Linked DNA regions of Homo sapiens: region 1 is linked to region 2. Evidence: promoter capture Hi-C in human tissues and cell types (Jung and others, 2019). All regions are on one chromosome and are shown on one strand. Each heading gives the region's core, a stretch centred on a gene start or on the middle of the fragment in contact. The rest is flanking DNA. Distances are from core to core; before and after follow the strand shown. Region 1 overlaps DNM1L (dynamin 1 like). Region 2 holds the start of PKP2 (plakophilin 2).

Region 1 (3,993 bases), core at 1,369-3,868, 150 kb before region 2:
TACATCAAGTCTGTCTTGTGACAGTTTCATCTGAACTTAACTTAAAAACAACTGTTAATGTTCTAGTTGTGCAAAGCAGTTTGCCTGTGGATAAGATGACCTGTGTAATAATCTTTGTTAGTAGTCTTAAAGCTGCTGCCATAGTCCTCCAAGAAGAAAGCACCAAGACAACATTTCATATGACTATAATGCATGTACTATATAAGCTGATCTGGCTTTGAAAGATGTGAGTTGGCAAGTTCCTCACATAGAGTCATTGTATTCCACCTGTCCTTCAATTTAGTTTTTTCTGAGCTTCTTTGCAGCCTTTGATGTGTTTTTAAGAAAGCTGAATGCACAAGAGGATCTGTGACACTGACATGGCTGTGGTGTGCATACTGTGTAGTTACATAGCCCTTCCAATTCTGGGTCCATTTGCACTAGCAAATTAAAATATGCTTTGATTCATACTTAAACCTGAAAGCAGGAATGCCTACATTAATTCCTACATTAAAAACAGCCATCTACCCTTGATTATCTAGAAAGACTTGGTAATGATGGTCAGTTCCTTTTAGATTTCAGAAAATCAAATGATGACCTAAATTTCCCTTAATTTGCAAATACAGTAGTAATTAAGGTACATCTCTAAAGTGGAGCACTTACACCAGGCTCTAAGATTCACTTTGAGGTGGAACTTAAAACCAGTGTACTGTATGTATGCATTGGTAATAGCTACTTTTGCTTCATAGCTTCATACCAACAAAATATATTTATTAGAATAGTATGAAAGTACTGGAGGAGCTGAAAGAAAAACACCCAAGGCTGGGCGTGGTGGCACACGCCTGTAATCCCAGCACTTTGGGAGGCCGAGGCAGGTGGATCACCTGAGGTTGGGAGTTGGAGACCAGCTTGACCAACATGGAGAAACCCCGTCTCTACTAAAAATACAAAATTGGCCGGGCGTGGTGGCGCATGCCTGTAATCCCAGCTACTCGGGAGGGTGAGGCAGGAGAATTGCTTGACCCTGGGAGGTGGAGGTTGTGGTGAGCTAAGATCGTGCCATTGCACTCCAGCCTTGGCAACAAGAGCGAAACTCCGTCTCAAAAAAAAAAAATAAAACAACACCCAGATAGATACACATACTCCTTCAGACTTACAGACCTAAGCTGCATTTATGGGGTAGTGATGAGGTTTAGAACATATACATATTTTGTTAAAATTCCCCAGATGATTCTTGGTATGAACGACTATATTATAAATTTTAAGATGTACTTAGAAATCCTTAAGACATCTAGCCCCGTCTCTAATAGACAACACATTTATATTGCAGATATTACTTTTTTTTCAGTTTATGACCAGGTATTTATGAAGGACTATTGGCAGGGAAAATATGAATATGTTAACTTTAGCTTATGGCATCAATTTACTAAGGAACAACAGGCTCACCAACTGATGTCAAACATAAAAACCCCCACATCAGTCTGATACGATATGGTACTACTTTGAATCTGTTACTAGTACCATCTTGACAGAGGATACATGCTCCCAAAACGTTTGTTACCACACTTAAAAATCACTGCCATCATTAAGCATCAGTTTCAAAATTATAGCCATTCATGATTTACTTTTTCCAGATGACTATCATTATTCTAGTCCTTTGAATTTGTAAGGGGAAAAAAAACAAAAACAAAAACTTACGATGCACTTTTCTCCAGCACATCAGATTTCAAATTGAAAATTAAAGACATGCTATGGTAATGCACTTGCTAGTACTACACACTTTGTACAACAAAAAACAGAGGCAAGAAACAACGGAAAGAGAAAAGCCTTCCTTTGTTGGCCCTTAAACTGAGTCAAGATCTGAAATGTAGAGATGATCTCTGACGATACCTGTATGTTCTTATTGTGTAAATAAAATTGCTGGTATGAAATGACACTAAAGTTTGTCAAAAAATGAATTCTTAACTTTTCTCCCAGAGAAAGGGAGACAAAAGGAGCTTTTTAATACCTAATCTACTTTGGAACATAACCGTATAGAGTACGAAAAATTTTACGACTTTTTTCCTACCAGATTCTGACAGTTCACCAAGGTATTATAACATCTCCATTTTTGCGTATGAAGACAGTGACTTGCTCCAAGTAATCCAGGTAGTAAATGGCTAGAATTTGAACACTAAAGCCATGCTCTGCTGCCTGTAAGGTTTTCAAAAGAAATCTGATTAATCATTTCGTATGTGATTCACTTGATCCTCAAGGCAACAGGGATGCCATTGCCTTGATTTTTCAGATATGGAAATAGTTCTGGAGAATTAATTTGCCTCATGTTTGAAGAGCTGAACTCAGTCTTGATTCCAAATCCTTTAAGTTTGACCTGAAAACTTTCCTTACCTGGATACTTTTTGATATTCTCATATGATTGCATATTTGGTATAATTGGCTTTATTTTTGGGGGGTTAACTTTTTAATTTACCTCAAGTTGCAATCTGCTTGGGGGGAAAAGCTGAAACTTAAAACCAATTTAAGTTTCTAAATTTATAAAACATTGCTACCTTAGGAATCCACTGACAACAAGGCTTAATGTGAACAGAATTATACTGGAACACAGGCAAGGAACCAGAAAACTGAATTAGAAACTTTCTGAAAAGTCACGTACTGATTTTTGTACTATTATTTGTAAAGAAACTACTTACTGTAATTTCTCAAAGCAACCATGGCCTCATCTAACTTTTTCTCCTTTTTAAGAACTACATTTGCTCTCTGAACTACAAAAAAATCAAATTTCTATTCAAAGTTTCTAATACTAGTTTTCCCATTTCTAATGTGGACACTAGAGGCCCTGATGATTTTATAAACAACTATATAACATTAGTGACATCGGTGCTCCATACCTGATAGAAAAGCAGCTACAATTCCTTTTTTTTTTTTTTTTTTTTGAGACAGAGTTTCACTCACTACTCATGCTGTCTCCCAGGCTGGAGTGCAGTGGCGTGATCTCAGCTCACTGCAACCTCCATCTCCTGGGTTCAAGTGATTCTCGCAGCTCAGCCTCTTGAGTAGCTGGGGTTACAGGTGCCTGCAACCACATCTGGCTAATTTTTATATTTTCAGTAGAGACGGGGTTTCGCCCTGTTGGCCAGGCTGGTCTCAAACTCCTGGCCTCAAGCGATTTGCCCACCTTGGCCTCCCGAAGTGCTGGGATTACAGGTGTGAGCCACCATGCCCAGCCTCACAATTCCTTACACTACCTCTTTTTCATTGTTCCTCATCACTACAAAAAGGAGAGCAGGAAGGGTAAGATAGGAAAGCAGCATTTCTTTCTCTTCTGAAGTATAATTTTAAAAAGAGATTAACCCTGAAAATCATGGTTTTCTATGGTAATCAAGCTTTGTACATCAGAAAATAAAACATCCCATTATTAAACAAATATTTATTAACCGGCCCATAAAAATAATGAAGTTACTCACACTGAGTCCTAGTCCATTCTGTTTTTCTGATTTGCATAAGCAAAGGTCTAAGTTCTGGAGCCAACCCTTCAGAGGTCTTGAGAATGAATGATGGGTAAGTTTATTTGGACAACCAGAAGGACTTTTCATCACAACTGAAGCCATTTTATAATGTAGAAATTTCTTTTTCCTATTTTAAGTAAGGAAAGTCCATTCTTGAGAATATGTTGTCCAACAATTAAAACACTCTCAGGATTTGTTACTTGTTGGTGATTTATGCTGACTCCGCCTTCTGTTATCATTCGATACCTAAAAAATAGAAACGTTTAGTAAGTAGAGAGATCCAATCACTGTTGATCTGTCCCCCAAAAAAGACTGTTTCACTTAGATTTCAGAGGCTCTCCAATTGAGAAGATTTCATTTGGCACTGGACTGTTACCTTCATGTTTGCTCTATTATTAATAGATTCTGCCTCTCTTTACTGCTCTTTGTTTTTTGTTGTTTGTTTTTGAAACACATTCTTGCTCTGTAGCCCAGGCTGGCATGATCTCAGCTCACTGCAACCTCCGCC
Region 2 (4,011 bases), core at 1,233-3,732:
AATGTATTTTTCTAGCGGTTGGCTTCCTTCTTCAAACTTTTTGCTTTAAAGCAAGCAGAGTCTTTGTGTTTAATTCAGCACCTGCACAGCGCCCGGCATGAAGAACATACTCATTTGATGCTTGCTGAATTCATCACACAGGTGATGCATTACTTTGTAGAAAGAACAGATTATGTGTGGAGTTGGGATTAAATTTCCAACCATTGCTGACAGACACATACTTCATATGTGAGATGGATTCTCATATCTATCTCAGCAATTGTTTCAAGAATATAATGAAGATTCTGGAATAGGCACATAGTAGATGCTCAGCAACATTCCCTTTTCTTCTGTTCATGGCTCCATTCCCTCCATTTATGGAAGAGTTGTATCTGCTTGCTCTCTTCCTAGCTGGCCATTCTCAGAGGATAAGAAAGAATATCTAATATGCCTCCTGTGTCTCCTACGCAGGGGAAGCTGATTTGGTTTCAGTTTAGCACTGGACCTATGGGCACAGAGAATGAATGGGTGTAATGGCTCCACTTTTCAAAGACTGGCCTCACTCATCCCGCAGTCTTTAGTCAGACCCCTAAGTCTAAATAAATATAAGGTCTTTCCCTCCATGTATTGCAGCAGTTCTGTGTTTTCTAGACCTCCCCAGCCTTTCAGAACTTCCTCAATTTTATTTAAAGAAAAATGGGAGGGGGCCACGGAGAGGCTTAGCATCTAACAAATCCCACTTTGTATTAATCATTTTAAAACTTAATGATAAAACTGATAAGTTTAAAATTCAGGTTTGGGAGTTTAAATACCAGCTCTGCCACTTACCATCTATTAGAGCTTCAGTGTTACTTAACTGCTTAGTTTCCTCATCTGTAAAATGAGGATGAAAATACCTAACTCACAAGTTTTTAAATACATATATATATATATATCTCAAATGAATGCAAACCACATCGCCCAATTCTTGGCACATAGTATGCACTCAGTTATATTAACTACGATCATTGAACATCTTCTCTTTACCTTTCAAGTATGTTAATATTGACTACGTCATCCTTTAGGATTCTTTTACACACACAGTACAGCCTCCCAGACTCTGCTGTTTGAAATCTCTGGTCTGGCCTGTTAGAATTTTTCTGTTTTCCTAATAGAAACTAGAATGGGTTAGCCTACATTCGCCAATGCCCAAGTTACTTCATACAGAAACAACTGAACGTTGCAGGAAACAGATATTCCAACTTAATTGCTCAATTTCTTTCCTCTTCTTTTTGCTATAAGCCAACATAGTGCTTTTATAATGCAAACTCACATACACAGCAACAAGAAGTAAAACAAGGGTCACTGAGTTGATCCCATCACCTGACTTCAGCAGGGGAGAAAAGGATACATCATGATCTCTAATTTTCACAAGTGGCTTGCCATCTTCTTTCCCTTCCACCTCCCCCGTCTATCAATCATGAACATAGTGTGCATGTGTGTGCTTACACCCCTTTCACCTTCGGGTTTAATTTTTTGGAGGGATCAGACTTGCATCACGCCCGCACTGGTGGGGGTAGGAAGCGCAGCTAGGCGGGCACGGCTGTTGCCGGCAGGGCCAAAGTCCCCTACCTCCTCCTCGGCGTGTTTGTTCCCTGGACCAAAGCCTCCTAACTACTTTTCTTCACTCCCTAGATCCACCACTCGCCTCCCACACAGGGTGGAGCGCCCCGAAGTACTTGCATAAGACAGCACAATCCCAATTTATAGGTTGTAGGAGCGCCAGTGCTGTCGGTTTTTTTCCCCAAGATATTTATGGGGGTCATTAATTATTTAACAAATCTAATAAAATTGAAGGGCTCCTTCTCCCAGAAAAAGATCGTACACACCAAAAATTCTGCATAGCATCTCAAGGTGTTTATAGACTCCCTGAACCTTCAAATTAAGTCCGCACCAGTGAGGGGCGCGGACCGGCGGAGTAGAAAAAGAAAGGGGTGAAATCTTGAAGTGAGTTAGTTAACATTGATAGATATGTACAATATTTAATATACATAGGTACCTATATGACAAAGCTGAGTAATAGGTTATGGAAAAGAGTGCTTTCCACAAGCAAGTCGGTCATACCGAAGACGGCGAGCAACAGGTGGGCAGAACACGGGGTCCCGCACTCCCAGCACGCGGGGTGAGGGCGGGATAGGAGGAGGTGACCGGGTGTGGGGCAGGGGGCGGCGCCGGGGAGCGGCGGGCTCCACTCACCGTTGCCCACGGAGCTGCGGCCCTTCCGGGCGAGGGTCTGCTGCACCTGCTCCTGGATCCGCAGGCTCTTGACTGTCTGGCCGCCGCGGCCGCTGCTCCCCGCCAGCTTCAGCTTGGCCTCGGAGGGCAGCGCCAGGCTGGAGCTGTCCAGTTGTCCCAGGATCTGCTGGCCCAGGACGGTCCGGATGTAGCCGTACTCAGCTGGGGCGCCGGGGGCTGCCATGGGGCCGGTGGGGGCGACCGAGCTGCTCGCCTGCCTCTGGACTCGCGGGCGAAGCCGCCACGGAGCTGGGGGCGCTGGCGCGAGCCCCGCCCCGCTCGAGTCCGGCCCCGCCCCTGGCCCGCCCCCCGCGCCGGTGAGAGGCCCGGGCCGGGGGGGAGCTCGGCCTCGTGGGCCGGACGCCCGGCCTTCCCTGAGGAGGGGGCGCGGCTCCGGCCGGGCACGCGCAGTCGGGCCCGGGGGCGGGGGCGGGGGCGGGCCGGACCCGCTGAGCGCGCGGACACCTGGAGACTTGTACCCGCCCGCGGGGAGGTGGGGAGAGGGGCGCGGTTCGCCTGGGGTCGCGCACGTTGTCGGAGTCCCAGCGGATACCGCCTGCCGGGGCCGCGCCCCGCTCTGCCCACGCCCCGCGCTGGACAGGATGGATTTCCGCTCGATGCAGGGAGGGGCTGCCCTGCAGGCAGGTGAGCCCTCGAGAGTCACTCCTGTTCTTGGACTGAGGCTTGCCTCCGGGATCCCCGAGCGAGTAGTATGTCTGGTTAGTCAGGCTTTGTCGCACTGTTGGAAACGTTTCCTGGTTTTCCTGGACCTGAGGGTGAGAAAGGGCTATTTGGTCAGGCGGAAAGGGCAATATGAGGGAAATGTGCCAAGAAGATAACGTGTGAAATAAAAGACTTTCTAAAGAGAGTGTTTTTTTTCTTAGTACAACGTCAGGACTATGTACTTTTTGCACAGATGCAGTCCCAGAAACATATGTTCTTCCTCATTGAGAGCTTCTGTTTTCTCTTGGATACACAAATTGTACCCAGTACTCTTGCTAACCCATTCCTCTCTTACGAACACACCCACACAGAGAAACTCCAACAAGAGGCTCTAGAGAAGAAATGAATTTTAATAGACGATGCTTTTTAAATAGCCCTGCTAACGTTGATTAAGTCCTCTTTATTACAGGCTCTTTGTAGAGAGATCCACGGAGAGGGCCTCCAACTTTCAATCGAATCTTCCACAACTTGTATTTATCGTGCTATTAATTATGTTTCACCGCAGTTGACTACTGAGAACTTGAGAGCTAAGCTCAACAGAAAGGATCCTTGACCTTAAAGTTTACAACCAAAGCCACTTGTCCTGATTTGCCTCTTTGGACTTAAGAGGCAGAAAGAAAAACATGTATCCCTGGTATTAAGATAATATTCCCTTTGATTGCTTGGGTTTGTATGTTCACTTTCCCTCAAATCACTCAATTGCTGCAAAACCCCACTTACTCAAGTCTGAAGTGTTTGGAGAACGCAGCTTCCCTCGTCTTTGTTTTCCTACCCACACCCTTCTGCCTTTAGACACACACTGAATGCTTAGACACACAATGCACAGGTATATGGCCTCCCTTTTTACATGAGCGTCCAGGGAGTGAAGAGGAAACCAAAGGACTGAAAGCGTGGACAACAGAGTAGTGACAGTTCCGCCACCCTTTGTCAGCAGGCCACATGGCTAAGTGGGAGCCATATGGATGTGAGTCCTGGAAGCAATTGCTCCCACCCCAATAGAATGGACCACTATTTAGGCAAATTACACCTTGTGTA

What was found. The method cuts DNA at HindIII sites, captures the fragments that hold promoters and counts their contacts. A contact is called where the count stands out against the background at its distance.
Region 1: a fragment that was not itself captured here is called in contact with the fragment with the promoter of PKP2 in region 2 in 2 of the 25 tissues and cell types used here (mesenchymal stem cells and thymus).

The regions. Positions count from the first base shown.
Region 1 is chr12:32,743,633-32,747,625 of GRCh38, forward strand. DNM1L (dynamin 1 like) reads left to right here. Exons shown (of 20, transcript NM_012062.5): 20 at 1-2,018. It overlaps YARS2 (tyrosyl-tRNA synthetase 2), which reads right to left. Exons shown (of 5, transcript NM_001040436.3): 5 at 2,912-3,731. The coding sequence ends at 3,572. Among named protein-coding and RNA genes, the nearest start is that of YARS2, 10 kb to the right of the region's middle. The HindIII fragment of the contact is 6,792 bases long and covers 1-3,993 here.
Region 2 is chr12:32,894,295-32,898,305 of GRCh38, forward strand. It overlaps PKP2 (plakophilin 2), which reads right to left and starts at 2,483. Exons shown (of 13, transcript NM_001005242.3): 1 at 2,215-2,483. The coding sequence starts at 2,437. RefSeq lists silencers at 2,482-2,591, 2,792-2,891. The HindIII fragment of the contact is 8,511 bases long and covers 1-4,011 here.